Regions from separate parts of the Homo sapiens genome. Here region 1 is linked to region 2. Evidence: promoter capture Hi-C in 16 types of primary human blood cells and fetal thymus (Javierre and others, 2016). All regions are on one chromosome and are shown on one strand. Each heading gives the region's core, a stretch centred on a gene start or on the middle of the fragment in contact. The rest is flanking DNA. Distances are from core to core; before and after follow the strand shown. Region 1 has its middle 7.2 kb from the start of SYNE3. Region 2 holds the start of VRK1 (VRK serine/threonine kinase 1).

What was found. Contacts are between HindIII fragments. The CHiCAGO score rates a contact against its expected background, and 5 or more counts as called.
Region 1: a contact is called between a fragment that was not itself captured here and the fragment with the promoter of VRK1 in region 2, in 1 of 17 cell types (erythroblasts). The highest score is 5.5, in erythroblasts.

The regions. Positions count from the first base shown.
Region 1 is chr14:95,521,276-95,526,364 of GRCh38, forward strand. No RefSeq gene overlaps it. Among named protein-coding and RNA genes, the nearest start is that of SYNE3, 7.2 kb to the left of the region's middle. RefSeq lists an enhancer at 2,517-2,811 and a cis regulatory region at 2,834-3,236. The HindIII fragment of the contact is 788 bases long and covers 2,787-3,574 here.
Region 2 is chr14:96,795,021-96,800,385 of GRCh38, forward strand. It overlaps VRK1 (VRK serine/threonine kinase 1), which reads left to right and starts at 2,362. Exons shown (of 13, transcript NM_003384.3): 1 at 2,362-2,427. RefSeq lists silencers at 2,244-2,443, 2,454-2,743 and an enhancer at 2,688-3,219. The HindIII fragment of the contact is 2,825 bases long and covers 1,369-4,193 here.

The DNA.
Region 1 (5,089 bases), core at 1,931-4,430, 1.3 Mb before region 2:
ACCACTACATTCCAGCCTGGGTGACAGAGTGAGACCCTGTCTCTCTCTCTCTCCATTATATATCTTTTTGAAAAAAGAAGATCTTGTTTGTATTAAACAATCATCATTTAACATAACTAAACACCACTACTATTATACTCCAAGGAATAAATACTAAGATAAACAAAAGTGTTAAAGGAAAATTGATAAATTTTATTCCTAAAAAATAAAATCTGGCTGGGTGCGGTGGCTCATGCCTGTAATCCCAGCACTTTGGGAGGCCGAGGAGGGTTGATCACCTGAGGTCAGGAGTTCAAGACCAGACTGGCCAACATGGTGAAACCCCATCTCTACTAAAAATACAAAAAAAAATTAGTCGGGCATGGTGGTGGGTGCCTGTAATCCCAGCTACTCAGGAGGCTGAGGTAGACGAATTGCTTGCACCCAGGAGGCAGAGGTTGCAGTAAGCTGAGATCAGGCCACGGCACTCCAGCCTGGGTGACAAAGTGAGACTCCATCTCAAAAAAAAAAAAGAAAAGAAAAGAAAAAACAAAAACAGAAAACAAAGAAAATATACAAAATTCTTCTGGAAGAGGTCTGCCATGTTTCTCGTTTCTCCCAACAGTGGGAAGCCTGGTCTATTCTTTCTGCTTCTGTTGGGACTACTTTAAATGCATGTGGGTTTTTTGTTTAATTAAATGCTTTATTTTGAGACCACTGTAAATTCACATGCAGTTGTAAGAAATCATACAGAGAGGTCCCCTATATGCTTTACCCAGTTTCCACCGATGGCAGCATCTTACAAGACAATGGTACAGTATCACAGCTAGGAAACTGACAGACACCCACACGACACAAAACGCTTCCGTCACAAGGATCCCGCATGCTGCTCTTCCCCCTTTCCCCATTCCCTCCTTAAACTCTGGCAGCCACTCCTCTGTTCTCCTTTCTATAATTCTGTCATTTCAAGAATGTGATAATAATGGAATCACACGGTGGGACTGCCCTTCTCCACTCAGGGTAGTTCTCTGGAGCGTCACCCAGGCTGGCTCCCGTATCGAGTCTGTGCCTCCTCGTTGCTGAGCAGCAATCCACAGTGTGACGGATGCATCACGGGCTGGGTCACCCTTCCCTTGTTGAAGGACATCCGGGTTGTTCCTGGTTTTTGGCTATTATCAATAAAGCTGCTATAAACATTTTGTACGCACATGTGTGTCAATATACATCTTCACATCTTAAGTTTCAGCTGTTGGATCTAATACCCACTTACAATCCCATACCATCAGATTTCTCTTACTTTTTCCTAGTGATGAACGCAGCTAGTGATGAAGGATGTTTAAGTGTCCAACAGTTGCCCAGGATTGGGTCTTGAGTTGCAGAAATCTAACAAAAACCAGTTACATGGTTCTTGCCATCAAGAAATTTACAGTCTGTTGGGGAAGTGACATTAAGACACACGAATCATTCACAGAACTAAGTAATGCTGCATGTCATCAAATGCGAGACTGCATGGTACAAAACTGACTTGTAGAGGAACCCAGAGACAGGAAAGAGAAGTGACAACACGAGTGTTTGGGGAGTCCTCTGGATAAGATGTGAGATATATCTCAAATGATGGACACAAATAATGATATTTTATATTTATTAAGGGCTTACCTACCATCTGCCACACACTGTTCTAAGCCTTTACCTATATTGTTAATTTAACCCTCATCATCACCCTTCAGGATAGCTCCTATTATCATCCCATTTTCCAAATGAGGGAAAAAAGGTGAAAACTTGGCCATTCACCCAGCTATTATGTGACTCACCTAGGGTACACACTCAGGCAGTCTGACCCCAGCACCCACTCCATCGCTGTGGATTCTGTCTCATAGCAATAGTGGTCATGATTCAATTCCATTCTGTTTCTTAGGTTATATTTTCCACACACAGCATATGCTATAGCTATGCTGAGCCTTCTGGAGGAAGGTTATTGATAAGTTCAAACACTGTTCAAACAAACCAGCACCACTGTTAGTAACGTAACAGGTGAGAAGTCTGTGTGTGATGTATCTGCTGGGGTGTGTGTGTGTGTGTGTGTGTAAACAGCAAGGCTGAAGCCTCCAGTTGTGTGATTATCTGTATATGCAGCAAAACACGCACACACCACACACATCAAAGTTCCCAGCTCTATATGATAAAACACAGAAGCAGCTGAGCCCATTTCAGATAATGAATGTGGTTTTGTATTCTCTGAATTGCTACATACCAGGAAAGTCACTTCCAGGCTCAGCTACCTCCTGAGTTGCTAAACATACAAGATGTGTGATCACGCTTCGCTCACAGCACTGATGGCTGCTCACCCTTTCAGCTGTATCATTTCGGTTAAAACAACAGCATACCACGAGCCCGGCATGTTTGCTTGCTTTTGTTTTGAAATCTAAATGCAGCCTTGATAATGTCGGTGCTTCCATCGATGGGGTGGGTGGCAGAGTGAAAAGCTCCCTGGATCAACATCTCCTGACTTGCTGTCTCTCTGAGCTCTGCATTTCCCAGTCGGCTGGGCAGAGGCGAGCCATCTCACCTCCTCCTGTCTCCACATTTAGAAAATGGGGCCAGTTCTTCCTGTTTTCCCTGTAAGAGCTGCATGAGATTCACATAAAGATGATGAAACGCACTGCAAACTTTAGATTCTGTGCAAATGTGTACGACTATGGTAAATTAAACCCTCCGCTTACTATGCTTCCAAAGAATGCTTCACGACAGACACCAACTCAGGAAGAGGCTGTGAGTAAGGAAGACTTCCCCACTAGGGAGGAAAATGAAGCTTTCCGTGTTTTTTTTTTAATCCCTGGAGACATGTTTTTGAACGTTGCTGAAGTGTTCTCTCCTTGCTTTGACAAGTGTGGCTGTTCTGAACATGTGATCATATTGGAATCGCTGTGTGATAGGCAGAGTGCCCAGGAAGCCAGGGAGGCTCTGAACCCAGCCCTGGCAGACACACGGAGGTGTGGCCTTTGTACCCTCTTTAGGGCAGTGGAACCCATGCAGGGCACCTGCACCACCCCCACCCATCCCATATGAGCAGCCGGTGCTTGGCTCTTCCGGGAAGCCCACACTTGGGGCCCAGCCCTGTCCCTCTATCCTAGCGGCATGGGCTGGTAAATGCCAAATAGGTCCATGTATCTTATAAAACCTGCTGCTCTTGATGATAATTCTTGACAGCCCAGGACACTTCCCTAACAGAGAAAGTTGTTTCATTGCAGTAGTCTAGTTCCAAAACCTTAGAATCTTATTGCCAACAACTGGCATGGAACACATGCAGAACAAACATTTTCCAACAGGACTGCCGCAGGTCCTTGCAATGGCAATAGCTGCAGCACCTGGCCTAAGATTTTAAAGAACTTTCATCCTAAATTTCTTCTTTGATGTTGTAGACTTGGTATGCAGAGAAAAATGGCCAGTGTCGCTAAATGCACCTCCTGGTTAATTACAAAGCCCTATTCAGCAGACAGAAGCAACCTCTATAAACAGGCAAGAGGTGTCCTCAGGTATTTCAAAGGTCTCGGCTAGCACCATGCCAATGGGATGAGTGCACCAGCTTCAGCAATCAAGCTTGTTTCATCATCCAAATGGAAACATTTCTGCAAAATGACTGGACTCTATCTGCTCTGTTCACTAACTACAGAAATGGCCTAAAACAAAGGTTCACACACAGACAAAAGTAACAGCCAGAAGACACCTGACAAATTCACTGGCCCAACTCTATCACGTTGCAGAGCCCCTTAGAGGTGAAGCGAAGCGCCCAAGGGCAGCAAACACTGATTGCATCAGCCCACACTGTGTTTACCTCCATTGCAAAATCCACGAGACCCTGGGTCCTTACCTGGCCTCTCTCTGTGGCTTCCTTTTTTTTTTTAAGAGACAGCCTTGCTCTGTTGCCCAGGCTGGAGTGCAGTGGTACTATCATAGTTCACTGCAGGCTAGAACTCCTTGGCTAAAGTTATCTTTCCACCTCAGCCTCCCAAGTAGCTAGGACTATAGGCACACACCACTGCTCCCAACTAACTTAAAACTTTTTCTAGAGATGGGGCCTCACTATGTTGCCCAGACTAGTCTAGAGCATGTGGCCTCAAGCAATCCTCCTGCCTCGGCCTCCCAAAGCTCTGGGACTACAGGTGTGAGCCCTCATGCTCAGGCCCTCTGTGGCTTCTGGTAAATTCCTCTTCCCTAAAGCACTTGCTCCTAGTTCTCCTCATGGCCTGTCCCTCCCCAGCGATATGCGTTCCCCAGGTTTTCTTCTCTGCACTCCTTCTTGCCCCCCCACCCGCCCAAATCTCCTTTATCAATAGATCCAGACCCGTAGAGGCAATAATCTGCATACTCTCTCCCTTTATTTCAGACATAACCTGATGATTTAGATGTTCCTCAGGCACCTGGAAACAGAAATGTCCAAAAGTAATTCCTGAACTTACCTTTCCAATCCTCCTTCCCCCTCCCGCTGTATTCCCTGCATCATCAAGTGCAGTCAGTGGCTAAGCAAAACCCTAGGAATAAGCCTGAATCTTCCCCTCTTCCTCCCAGCCCCCTCCCCACAGTCAGCCAGTCACCAAATGCTGTCATCCCTACCTTCAAAGAACTCAGCTTGCAGCAGTGCCCTTCCCCCATGCCCCCACCCCAATACCTGCAAAGGTTAAATCTGATGACCCTCTCCTAAGTGGCCCCGTTAGCTCGGCCACCTCCAATCCATCAACACTCCCGCAAGGGTGATCTCTCAAGCACTCTGCAGCTTACACTCCTCCTGGGACTCTCCCTCATCCAGAGGAGGAGAGCCCAGTCCCTTACCATCTGTCCTCCCCTCAGCTATGTCCAGTCCTGCATTTCTCAAGAAACGGCCTGGCATTCTCCCAGTGGACCCAGGGGCCTCTGTGCCTTTGCCCTGGTTGCTCCCTCTTCCTGGAATGTCCCTCCTTTTTATATAGAAGCACTTTACCCTTCTCTCAAAACTCAGTTCAAGTGTCACCCCCTACTAAGCTTTTCCTATCCCTTAGGCGCTGACTGAGCTTTTTCCGAGAGCTCCATTCCCTTCTCCAGTTCTCGGGGGCATTCTTGCATCTGTCCCCATCAC
Region 2 (5,365 bases), core at 1,112-3,611:
TGTTGTAGGTGCCGGCAACTGCCTTGGAACAGGGCTGCACGTAAGGAGTGTTTAACAGTGAGCCATCAGATCAAGGGTGCCAGGGCCAAGAGCTCCAGAATAAATACATTCCATTCTTACCTTACACTGTTGCTGATTTAATTGTGCTTTAAAGTCAGTCAATTGTCAACCCAGTGTGGAAACAGGGATGTTTCTTCACGTGTCTATTGTGAGGTTAGGGGAACATGGTCACACTATGACAGATAAGTCCTGTTCCAAGTTTTCTTAACATATGTGTGTATTTGTGTGGGTGTGGGTGTGGGTGTGTGTGTCTTTCTCTCAGTGGATTCTGGCCACAGAGTCTTGCTGGGGGATTCCACACCCATGAGATGTGTGAATCTTGAGACTTTTTTGCTGACAGATTTTATCGAGTGCTCACCTTGCCCATGCTCTGTTAGGGTCTCAACAGGAAGCAGATGACATAATTCCAAATAGGGTAATTTGAGGAAGGTTATTTGCAATGAGACTATTTACAACGGTGTTGGGGGTAGGAACCACGAGGGAGGATGCAGTAACTTGTGGGTCAGCAGCAGCCGTGATGTCATCACTTCCAGACCTGAGGCACAAAGGGAAGGGCTACTACCGCAAACTGGAGGGAGGGCCAGGGAGCAGTGACCTTCAGCTGAGGGACCTGCCAACTGGAGGTGACCTTGCCAGTCAGGATCCAGGGGCTTAACCTACTCTAACCAACCTTTCTTTTTCCTCCAATCTTCTGTGGGGTTCTCCACTGGGCACGCCCCAAAGCCAGGGGGCACAGGGAGCGCGAAGTAATTTGTAGAGGTCAGCCTCCTGGGGCAGAGGGCAGGCAGGAGAAGTATTTGGAGCAGATGAGGGTATCTGGAGGGGAAAATGTAAGACATCAGGCACAATATTGCCCTGTCTAATGGACAGAGTGATTCCAGGTTTTGTAGGGACTGAAGCTCACATAATTTTGGGGGATCTACTTTAAGAAAAATCAGCTGGGTGTGGTGGCTCATGCCTGTAATTCTAGCACTTTGGGAGGCTGAGGCGGGGTGGATTGTTTGAGCTCAGGAGTTCAAGACCAGCCTGGGCAACATGGTCAAACCCTGTCTCTACAAAAAATACAAAAATTAGCCAGAAGTGGTGGCCTGTGCGTGTAATCCCAGCTACTCGGAGGGTTGAGGTGGGAGGATTGCTTGAGCCCAGGAGGTCGTGGCTGCAGTGAACCGAGATCGCGCCAATGCATTGCAGCCTGGGTGACAAAGTGAGACTATATCTTTAAAAAAAAGAAAAAGAAAAGTAAAATCGACAAATAAACCCCCAAAGCTATGTAAACTCATTGAGGGACCTGCGCAAGTGAGGTCCTGAAGCTTACGCTTCATTGGCTTCATTGTTAATCTCCCTCTGCCTGTGACTTCAGTGATTTTGACCTAGAACAATGACCCAGTGCCCAATAAGCTCTCAGCCTCATGGGTGATGGAGACTTAGCTGATTATAATAAACACAATGCGGCCGGGCGCGGTGGCTCACGCCTGTAATCCCAGCACTTGGCGAGGCCAAGGCGGGCGGATCACAAGGTCAGGAGATCGAGACCATCCTGGCTAACACGGTGAAACCCCGTCTCTACTAAAAACAGAAAAAAATTAGCTGGGCGTGATGGCGAGCGCCTGTAGTCCCAGCTACTCGGGAGGCTGAGGCAGGAGAATGGCGTGAACCCGGGAGACGGAGCTTGCAGTGAGCCGAGACTGTGCCACTGTACTCCAGCCTGGGCGACAGAGTGAGACTCCGTCTCAAAAAAATAAATAAATAAAAATAAATAATAAACACAATGCAAACTGTGGCATACGTTGATTACAGATGAAACACTATAGATGATTAGGTAGACATTGAGATATGCTTTGAAATAGGCTTCGAAAAACAGGTAGGATTTAGACACATATCAATGAGTGGGCAGAATAATACTAACACTATCTGCTATTTATTGAGCACCAACTAAGTTTAAAGTACTGCCTATAGATTATTTCATTTAATCCTAACAGAAACAGGAAACTTATTTTACACCCAACTCTCTGCCAATACACTTAATAAATCAAGCTACTACGAACAAGGCTGTAAACCACATTTCCTAGAAGACCAGGGAGCAGAAGGACGGGGATCTCCCTTTGCCGCTAAGAGACTCCAACTCCCAGGATGCCTTGGGAGCGCTGGACCACAGCTCCCGGCATTCCCGGGGAGGCGCGGGGCTAGCGTAGCCTCCGCCCCGCGCCTCGCGTTACCACTCGTCCCGCCCCTCCTCGTCGCCTCCGAGCCAATGGGAAGGCTCCATACTGCAGGGTGCGAAGGGGCCGGCGCCGCTGCCGAGTTACGAGTCGGCGAAAGCGGCGGGAAGTTCGTACTGGGCAGAACGCGACGGGTCTGCGGCTTAGGGTAGGGAGGCCGCAGGCGACACGGCTCGAGGACTCGCGCGCCGAGCCGGGGGCGCGGAGGCGGGCGGCCGGGGCTGGGGCCGGCACTGGGCCTTCCGGGCGGCCTGTGGGTCCACCGGGGTGCGGGAGTCGCCGTCAGCCTCGGTCGCCCCGCGGGACCGCGCTCCGCCGCGTGGCTTCCGCCTGCGCGGGCGTCCGCTCCTTCCTTGTCTCGTTCAGGCCCCGCAGGCGCCCCCGGGGATGCCTGGACTGGCCAGGCCGGCCCCCATCTGAGCTCCACGTTCTGGACGCGCGTGGTGTCGCGGCCGAGCTCGCAAACGCCGCCTCGGGCCTCACCGGGAAGCCGGTTCTGTCAGGCGGGGCTCCGGGTGAACAGCGCAGGCGAGGCCCCTGCCCCGCAGAGCTCACTCTGTAGAAGGGAAACAACACACGCAGCTGCGATGTTTTGCGGATACGGAAATGCTTTCTTAGAAACGGGACAGGCAGTTGCGGGCTAGAGGAATGGGGGCGAGGCTCTTTAGGTTAGGTGATCCGGGAGGGCATCTCAGAGGATGTGACCTTTGACTTGAGACCTGAGAGGGGAGGCCGACCCCTGAGGATAGCAGCCAGGCCTGGGGACCGCGAGGCCGCCCGTTATTTCCCTGTCACATCGCGGGGAGGCCCCGTGATCCTGTACTTGAGGGTCTGTCTGGTGCAAGGCAGTTAGAGCCGCTTGTGTGTTTTGCAAGGGACTTTCATAACCGTTTGACAGTTCCTCCTCATTCTGTCCTTACCTGGCAGGGTGGCATCCTTTACTGTTGCAGCTCCATTCAGGGGCAACGCATAGTTTTTCCTACCACCGAAATAGTATTGTGGTTCTCGTCTCAAAACTCTTAGGTGGTAGAATTAAATTCGACAGACAGCAGCAGAGTCAGACACTATAGGTTCCTGTTGAGGCCACCCATTTTTCTGATGTCCTTTCTTTCAAGTCACTCATTTTTGTTTTCCTTTGTATAGACTCTTCCCTTCCCTTTCCTGTGTCCCTTTCTTGGAACAACTTGGAAATACAATTTGCTATTGGGAGGATGTTGGTTTTAGGGAACTGTTGAAGAACTTCATTAATTATTGTGTGTGTGTTTTTCTTTTCTTCTTCTTTTTTTTTAAACTGGAATTGCCCATCTGTTGAGACTGAAATTCAAGAGTAAAAAAAAGTAGGGCAGCATTTATTTTCAAGAGTTGACAATAAAGGCACCTTTCTTTATGACATGCTGAGCATGATACTTTGGGGGAGAATTTAATCTAGAATTTTGAAGCATTTTCAGAAGGAAGCAAGGGTTCTTTATATAGTCATTTTATGTAGGTTACGTTTATGTTCTTCAAAATGGCATGTAGTGATTGGAATTAAATTTCTGGGTAGATAAGATTATGTTCATCTGTTACCTATAGAAGGGAATGTAACTTAAGTAGTCACTTAATAATAGCTTTCTCTGTTGATGCTACCACAGATGGTATTCTCTACATCTCAACATTGCTGATCAGATTCTGTGTTAATACAGTAACACAACTTGAATTTAATAACAATAAACTTGTGTTAGGCGTTACTGTCAATTTAGTTCTGGTATCCAGTACAAATACCAGTTTTATAGTGCAATGTCTTCTTGTTATGTTCAGTGCTGCAAAAATTATGAGAGGATATTTGTTAAACAAATGAGATAATGGAGTAATGTGTTAAGCATAGAGCCTGGCATATAGTAAGTTAGTAAGTGCCCAGGAAATGGTTATATGGAAAGCTTATGCTAAGTTTTATTCCAGTATGCAAGTGTGTATTTTAAAAATAACAGTAATGCATTCAAAATGTTGACAGACCCTAAAATTAAATTTCTTAAAGGAAATAGGCCAGCTTTTTTTTTTAACTTTGAGAACTAATGTGAAATAATAATAAATATATAAGTGAAATGTCCCAGATGTCTAGAAATGAAAAAACAAGATTTTAATTTTGACAGCTATATTTTTTTTTCTTAAAAGCATCCCTAATAAGATATAATGTACTATGATTAGGATTATGATTTGAAAAATAAAACTTTAAAAATATTTTTGATTTGAAAAATAAAACTTATTTGGAAATGAAGCGAAGCTTTAAGATTTACCTTATATCAAATGAAGGATGTCTCCTGAATTTATGCAAATGTGCAAATGCTTATATCTCCGTAGATCAGGCAGTGAGCCTAATGGGAATTAAATGCTGCCTCTTTGTGCGTGTGAGTGAGGCTTTCATGAAAATTGCTCTTGATGGGTTCTGAGAATGGATTGGTAGCTGAATAGGACTGGAGAATATTTTTCAGACTGGTAGGATATTTTACATGCTTGCCAGGGTTATTTTTCGGAGTAAGGAGAAATGGACTCATTTATTCAGCAGAGATCACGTGCCCCCTATTTACAAGGAATTGTGCTAGGTGCAAAGTCTATTGCTATTGTAGTGTTTTGCTGAAGCAAGTTTTCTTTGTTTTAAATTAGTGTACGTCTTTTTTTTTTTTTTTTTAACTTTATCTAGCATCCAGCACAGAATAATCCAATAAATGTGTAGGGCGCCTTTGAAAAACTGCACTATTAATGTTAAAATGTAGAAAATGTTTAATAAAGGTACAAGATTAATTTAAAAGGGTGATAGAACCCTAATAAAACATTTAGGTAGGTGTTGTAACCAAGATGTATTTTTACTCTAGGATAAGTTTGGCTCTTTTGATCAAAATTCCTGTGAATATATTTCTACTTGCCATTATAAAGATGCAGAGGGCTCTGTCCTTTGAATTTTTTCCCTTTGGTGCTTGAATGATATTTAAGCACCCAGCATTCTGAAGTTGCTGTTTTGAAGTAATTTCATGCACTTTCCCAATTACTCCTGCTCCATCTCTCCCAATGTTGTCTTAAATCTTTGCACTCAAATTCAAGCACATCCTACT